Regions from separate parts of the Homo sapiens genome. Here region 2 is linked to region 1. Evidence: promoter capture Hi-C in 16 types of primary human blood cells and fetal thymus (Javierre and others, 2016). All regions are on one chromosome and are shown on one strand. Each heading gives the region's core, a stretch centred on a gene start or on the middle of the fragment in contact. The rest is flanking DNA. Distances are from core to core; before and after follow the strand shown. Region 1 holds the start of CFAP54 (cilia and flagella associated protein 54). Region 2 overlaps ELK3 (ETS transcription factor ELK3).

Region 1 (3,962 bases), core at 506-3,005:
TCACTTAGAGAACAAGATAAAATCTTTGTTGATCAAAGGATGATATCTACATCCTGATTAGAGAATTGGACTCCTACAGTGAGGTGTCATTGCGTCTCACTGCTTGCCAGGAAGTTTCTCTGGCTATAATTAACTGTGCCGATGAGCAAAATTATTTTCCTTCAAAGAATATTAGGGTACAGTAGACATGACATATTAGGCCAGCCTCACAAATTAGCACAGGCCCACAGAGCCTGCATAAAATTAGGTCAGACTTGAAAGATATCAGGCTGTGGTCCAATAAGCTTCTTAGTCTGAAATGGAAAATTGGGTTCACAGGGTGTTAGGGTCACTGTCTTTATTTAAGTGTGATAGAACTGGTAACAATTTTCAGGGTTAAAGACTGATTTTTCTAAGCCACCAAATATTTCTGGTTCTTCTCTTAGATAATTTATTGTGTTGCATAATTTATAGAAAAGAAGGTTCTCCATTTTCTCAATACTCATACTTTAATAAATTTAACTCTGACTTTTGCCTATAATACACAGGCTAAGAATAAACTCCCCAAGTATTTCCCTGGAGGTCTGTAGTTTCCCCATCAGAAGTAAAGTCTCCTAAAAGCCCTGTTTAAAATGCAAAGTATTTTGAGAGTTAACACTTCAGGCCACTAGTATGTATTAATGTCCTATGGTTAAGGTTGAGCAAAATGCACATTAATTTAGAATACAGAGATAATTAAAGTAAGGCTGGAATGTGCATAAATAGATGTAATCATAATTATTAGAGGCATAGACATCATGTCCACAGTTACAGACCTCAAGGTACAAATAGAGGAAAGAGAATGGATCAGCTGCATATTCAGTACTCCCTGGCTATCTGTGGGGGACTAGTTCCATGACACCCGCAGATACCAAAATCTGTGGATGCTCAAGCCTCTGATATGAAATGCTGTAGTATTTGCATATAATTTGTGCACATCCTTCAGGATGTTTTAAATCATCTCTAGATAACTAGTAATACCTAATACAGTATAAATGCCATGTAAATAGTTGTATTTTGTGTTATTTTTATTGTTGTATTGTTATTTCTAATTTTGTTCTGAATATTTACAATCTGGAGTTGCTTGAATCCACAGATGAAGAACCCGAGATTTGGAGGGCCAACTGTATTTGATTCTTAAACTGCTTGTCAGATATTTCTCTAATTTCAATTTGATTAATAAGCTTTGTTTTGGGGAGTGATCAATACAGCCTATTCATTTTGAGCACAGGCTTTGGAGTCACAAGTTCCCTTTGGAGGACCTGGTCGCTGACACTACGGTTGTACGCTGACTTTTGTCAAATGACTTAACCTCCTTGAGCTTTGGTTTCCTAAACTGTGAGATGGATATACTAATAGTATCCTAAGTTGTAAAGTAGTTATGATGATTAAATGAGATAAATGAAAGTACATGTTTCAAATGCTTAATGCCTGACACACGTTAATGGTCATGGTCGTCATCATTATCGTTATTAAGTGGCCAACATGGATAAAGAGTATAGTCTGGATTTGTGACCTTAAATTTTTGGCTCTAATATTCGCCAGCGCTCTGCTCAGAACATTCTCTGTTCGCATTTCATACAGCGGTGCCAGCGCACAACCAGGCAACGCCCTCAGGAGCATCATTGTTTTCTGGACCTGGTTCTTTCTCGCTCTGCCCTCCAGGGGCCGCTGTGTTTCTCGGAATGCGCGCGGGATGCCCGGTTGCCACGAGACCGTCGCCAGGCAACCGCGTGTACACATACTCCAGGCGGGCCGGGGCGCGTCAATATGGCGGCGCAGGGCTCCCCCTCGAGCTCTCCGTCAGACGACTCTACCACCTCGGGGTCTCTGCCAGAACTGCCGCCGACCTCCACCGCGACTTCGAGGTCGCCCCCAGAGTCGAAGGGGAGCTCCCGGAGCTCGCTGCTTCAGTGGACCTGCCCCGAGGACTCATTGCCCCTAGCCGTGTTTTATGGGCCGCTGGACGCGAAAAACCCGCTCCTGGCCTCTTGTGAGAAGGAGATCCAGGAGTTGTTAGGCTTTATGAGGAAAAAGAAGGCTTTAGCCACCACGGAGGAAGAGAAGCACGAATTCCGCCGGCGTTGGTAAGCGCTGGCGGGGCACTGGGGAGGGCGCCGGCCAGAGGAGGGACCCCTGGAAAGGGCTGGAGGATGCAGGTGGTGGCCCCAGAGATGGTTCAGCGTTGCGGACGCAGGGGCTGGCTGAAGGGCCCAGGAGAGACAAAGTTTAAGAAGTGGAGACTCGTCGCTCTTAACAATCCTTAATTCCTGGGAGCTGTTATATCTTGGCTTCCTGCTCAGGTCAAAATAAAAATCTACACAGAAATGTTTCATAACTCACCATTTGTTATTTGACCAGAAAAGAAAGATGGTAACATAAGCAGGAAAGAACCTTAAAAAGAGTTCGCAGTTTGCAGTAATAACATGGTGATAGAACTCCCAAAAAGGCAAACAGTTGCGCAGAATGAATAGCAAAATTAAGAAAAAGTCACTGTAATCCTAATAGCAATATAAGAAGGAATTAAAGTGCACATGTTCACAGGATGACATACTTCATTGTATCAAGAGCTAGCTTCATGAACCTGAGCTACCTCGAAGTTATTCCTTTTTCTCCATATACAAATTTATATACTCATAACATGGAAAGTTGTGAAACCCTTGAGCGAGCCAAAAATTTATACATGAATACAAAATACGAAAATTAGCTGGGCATGGTGGCACATGCCTGTACTCCCAGCTACTCAGGAGGCTGAGGCAGGAGAATTGCTTGAACCCGGGAGGCAGAGGTTGCAGTGAGCTGGGATCGCGCCACTACACTCCAGCCTGGGCGACAGAGCAAGACTCCTTCTCAAAAAATAATAATAATAAATAAATAAAATAAAATATTTTTTATTTATGCATATAACAACTATTTATTGAGCACATACTGTATATCAAGTGCTGTTCAAGGAACTAGGAAAACATCAAGTTAACAAAACATATAAGAATCCATGTCCTTATAGAGCATATGTTTTTGTGGGTATAAACAACCACTAAACAAATATGTAAGTAAATAATCTTACAAGGAGATGACTGCTAGGGAGAAAAATAGAACAGGGAATGGTGTTGGAGGATATGAGATGAATGTTGCAATTTTATCTTTTTTTTTTGAGACAGGGTCTCACTCTTGCACAGGCTGTTGTGCAGTGGCTCAATCCTGGCTCACTGAAACCTTGAACTTGGGGGCTCAAGGGATCCTCCCACCTTGACCTCCCAAAGTATTGGATTACAGGCATGAGCTACTGCGCCTGGCCTGAGTGTTGCAATTTTAAATGGGGTGGTGAGAAGCCTGGTTAGGGAAGGTCAGGAAAAGTTGCTTTTGAGAAAGATGAGAAAGATATGGGAGCAATTGATGAGGATTTTTGTGCAAAAAGTAGGTCACACAGGGAGAATGGCAGATGGGAAAGACCTGGGGTGGAATTGTATTGTGGGAAGAGCAAGAGGGAGGGAGATCAAGAGTTTACTTTTATAAAAATTGAGATGTGATTCAGCATCCAGGTGGAGCTACTATGTAGGTAGTTGGACATTTGAATCTGGAAGTCAGATGAGATATACATTTGGGATTCATATGATATTTAAATGATGACACTTGATGAATAGCTAAGGGAGTGTGTGTGTAAATGGAGAAGGGAAGAGTCCAAGGATTGAGCCCTGGGATGCTCCAGCATGGACAGGGAGAGGCAATAAGAAGAAACCAACAGAGACTAAGGAGGAGGGGCCAGTGGAAAACCATTAAGTGCCTGGTGTACTAGAAGCAGGTAGAGAAAGTATTTCAGGAAGAAAGGAATGATCAACTGTGGCAAATTCTGCTGACTGGCCAAGTAAGATGAGAACCAAGAATTGACCAAGGAAAGCCCATTATATACCTACTCTATATGCTTTATTTATTTATTTATTGATAGG
Region 2 (3,962 bases), core at 770-3,269, 290 kb before region 1:
TTCCTGCCTGAAACCAAAATAAAAATTGCCTTTCATCCATTACTGGAGATTTACATATATGTCAGCAGTTTTAAAGTAAACTTTGAACTAGTCATTTCAATAAATTGTGATTTGGTTTGAATTCCCACTAGGAATAAAGTCATTGACTACTTTATTGCTATGTATTAATTTACATTTCCTGGAAAGTACTACTTTTTTCTAAGAATTAAATAAGATTATAACATGGCTTTACTTGTATATTTTTAAAGAAATTTAGACAATGTTATATTAGTGTATTCTAATTTGAATTAGACTGAAATGAATTTACTCACACACTCTAAAACAAGGATCTATTTATGACACATAGTGTCATAAATATGCTTAAAGTTTCTATAGCTAAGAACAATTTCTGAATATCCATGTGTAATATGGGAGTGATGGGATAGGTATAAAACACTTATCTAGATACCTTCTCTTTTTATTTTTTAAATTGATATAAATGTACATATTTATGGGGTACATAGTGATTTTTTACATATATATCATGTATAGTAATTAGATCGAGGTAATTAGATCCATCATCTCAAATGTTTATGATTTATTTGTGTTGGGAACATCCATTATCTTCCTTCTAGTTAATTGAAACTATATAGTATTATAGGCATCCTGCAGTGCTATAGAACACGAGAACTTACTCCTCCTGTTGGAGACCTTCTCTTAAGACTGATGAAGCTAGGGCTCCTGTACTCCAAGCAATAGAGTAAAGAAAACGAGGCTCTTGGTATCTTCCCCTCTCTCTTTTTTTTAAGTTGAGGTATGATTTACATATATTAAAATGCGCAGATCTTAAGTGTTATTGTATACATACATGTAACCCTACCCAAAGAGACAATATTTCCATGTCCCCAAGTGTTTTTTGGCTTATGTATTTAGAGACAGAGCCTGGTTCTGTCACCCAGGCTGGAGTGCACTGGCACTGTCATAGCTCAGTGCAGCCTCAAACTCCAGGGCTCAGGTGATCCTCCTGCCTCAGTCTCCCAAGCAGATAGGACTGCAGGTGTGCACCACCACACCTGGCTAATTTTTTTTTTCTTTTTGAGACAGTGTCTGGCTCTGTTGCCCAGGCTGGAGTGCAGTGGTGCAAGCTTGGCGCACTGCAACCTCCGCCTCCTGTGTCTAAGCAATTCTCATGCCTCAGCCTCCCAAGTAGCTGGTATCATAGGCATATGCCACCATGCCTGGCTAATTTTTGTATTTTTAATAGAGACGGGCTTTTGCCATATTGGCCAGGCTGGTCTCAAACTCCTGGCCTCAAGAGATCTGCCTGTCTCCACCTCCAAAGGGCTGGGATTAACAGGAGTGAGCCACCATGCCTGGCCTCTGGCTAATTTTTTTATTTTTTGTAGAAATGGGGTCTCATTATCCCTGGCCATTTACAAAATTCTGTTACGGCAATTTCATGATTCTACCATATAGATTCTTAAACTTCAGAATACCTTGATAAAATATTGTGGTATTTTATTTAATCTGCTTAGTTAAAAATAAATCAGAATGTGTAGATTTCCTCATCATACAGTAAGAGGAAAAAGAAAAATCCTTTCTGTATTACCTGATATCCGCAAAATATTTAACCAAAAGTAATATGTGTGCTTTAGGAAAAATGTATTACCTGAAGACTAATTGGGATGAGAGGATATTAGTAAATCTTCCCAGACCTCAGTTTCTTTAGCCTGATGGTAAAGTAGTTGAAGTGGAGGCTGGGTGCAGTGGCTCACATGTGTCATCCCAGCATTTTGGGAGGCTGAAGCAGGCAGATCACTTGAGCCCAGGAGTCTGAGATCAACCTGGGCAACATAGTGAGACCCCATCTCTGCCAAAAATTAGCTAGACGTGGTGGTGCGTGCCAGTAGTCCCAGCTACCCGGGAGGTCAAGGCTGCAGTGAACCATGATTGCGCCACTACACTCCAGCCTGGGTAACAGAGTGAAACCCTGTCTCAAAAAAAAAAAAAAAAAAAAAAGGGATTGAAGTGGAGAAGCTGAGATATACTCCCTTTCAAGTCGGAAGCCCTATTTGTGTACTGCTATATTTGGAGGAAAGGTCTTGACTCCTAAGAGTTGTGAAAGTGTGATATGAACTTCTTGCTGTCATCTCCAGACATCTGACTTATAGACATATGCAGGAATTTAAACAAACAGCTATTTTGTGGTGGAAAAGGGGGATCTCCATAAGTTTCCCCTTGAATTCCATTTTGGCCCCTTATTGAATAAGGAACACTCCAGTGGAAGGCCAGTATTAGCTGCCATGCTTCCTTTCCTCCTAGTCTTTTGAGGTTTGTGACAGGCAGCACTGATTTCTAATGACCCACAGCCACCTCATTCTTGGGGACATCAGTGACTGTCTGAGTTGGTGCTCTGTAGCACCAGATAAGAGTTTGGTCACCTGGTGAAATTCCTCCTCCTTCCTTCTGATAGTCTTTGAAAGTGCTGTCTGCCCCCACTGCTGTATCTTGAGGGTTCTTACATTCCTCTGCACCCGCTCTGATCCCTTCTCTCCCCAGGAGCTAGAACAATCCTTTCAAAACACAGATCTGACCAGGTCATTCTTCTACTGAAAAATCTTCTAGTGACTTCAGCTTAGGATAAAGACCAAAACCCCTAACTCAAGCTGCAAGATGTGATTTGGGCCAGCAAACTGACTTTTCCTCAGTTCCTCAAATGCTTAAGGTGTCCTCTGCCCTCTGTCCACTGGGTCTTTGTCAATACTGACAGAATTTTCCCCCCGACCCCTCTATTTTTCAGACTCCATGCCTAACCAATTTGTAGGCGTCTTTTAGTTCACACTCAGCTCCACCATGTTTTATTGGGGAAGCCTTTCCTGTCACCTAGAGTAGATCTCCCTCAGTCATCTGCTCCTGGCCTTCAGAGCCCTTACCACAAGCTTTTTTTTTTTTTTTTTTTGAGAGATGGAGTCTTAGCCTGTTGCCCAGGCTGGAGTGCAGTGGCACCATCTTGGGTCACTGCAACCTCCACCATGTGGGTTCAAGAGATTCTACTGCCTCAACCTCCCAAGTAGCTGGAATTACAGGCTTGTGCCACCACACCTTGCTAATTTTTGTGTTTTTATTAGAGACAGGGTTTCGCCATGTTGGCCAGGCTGATCTCAAACTCCTGGCCTCAACTGATCCGCCTGCCTCGGCCTCCCAAAGTGCTGGGATTACAAGTGTGAGCCACCATGCCTGGCCACCACAGGCTTTATTTACAGGTTGCCTCATTACCTGAATTCTCTCTCTCCAAATTCTTGTTACCCAAACACAGGAACATGAGATGGAGTCTCGCTCCGTCGCCCAGTCTGGAGTGCAGTGATCTCAGCTCACTGCAACCTCTGCCTCCTGGGTTCAAGTGATTCTTCTGCCTCAGCCTCCCAAGTAGCTGGGACTACAGGCATGCGCCACCCCACCTGGCTAATTTTTGTATTTTTAGTAGAGACGGGGTTTCACCATGCTGGCCAGGCTGGTCTCGAACTCCTGACCTCGTGATCCACCCGCCTCAGCTTCCCAAAGTGCTGGGATTACAGGCATGAGCCACCATACCTGGCCAGGAACTAGACAGTTTTAGAGACATCTTTCTGAAATAGGGCTGGTGCCCCTCATTATTCATTAATGCTATTTTCTCCAAAACCCGGGAACCAAATAGATGTGATAGCATGGCATCCCTCATGATCTGAAGTTACTGTCCGTAACTGCGGTCCCATTCGATTTGGATATTGGGGGATGCCTGCACGTGTCTGTGTCATGTGCTGCATGTCTGCGGTGCCATCAGTCTGTGAGCTCCCTCTGGGCCTGCGTCCGTTTTTCTCATCCTTTGTATTATCTCAGCACTTTGTACAATACCTGGCACTCAATGAATTAAAAATAATCTGAAGCGGGGGTTGGGGGGAGCTTGTCAATATAGCCCCACCTTGTTTTGCCCTTGGACTTGATAA

The links. The method cuts DNA at HindIII sites, captures the fragments that hold promoters and counts their contacts. A CHiCAGO score of 5 or more calls a contact.
Region 2: a contact is called between a fragment that was not itself captured here and the fragment with the promoter of CFAP54 in region 1, in 5 of 17 cell types (total CD8 T cells, non-activated CD4 T cells, activated CD4 T cells and 2 more). The highest score is 6.7, in total CD8 T cells.

Annotation. Positions count from the first base shown.
Region 1 is chr12:96,487,822-96,491,783 of GRCh38, forward strand. It overlaps CFAP54 (cilia and flagella associated protein 54), which reads left to right and starts at 1,756. Exons shown (of 68, transcript NM_001306084.2): 1 at 1,756-2,105. The coding sequence starts at 1,789. RefSeq lists a silencer at 1,610-1,904 and an enhancer at 1,795-2,004. The HindIII fragment of the contact is 3,410 bases long and covers 1,201-3,962 here.
Region 2 is chr12:96,199,605-96,203,566 of GRCh38, forward strand. The region is part of intron 1 of ELK3 (ETS transcription factor ELK3); the gene reads left to right. Among named protein-coding and RNA genes, the nearest start is that of ELK3, 7.2 kb to the left of the region's middle. The HindIII fragment of the contact is 1,794 bases long and covers 1,123-2,916 here.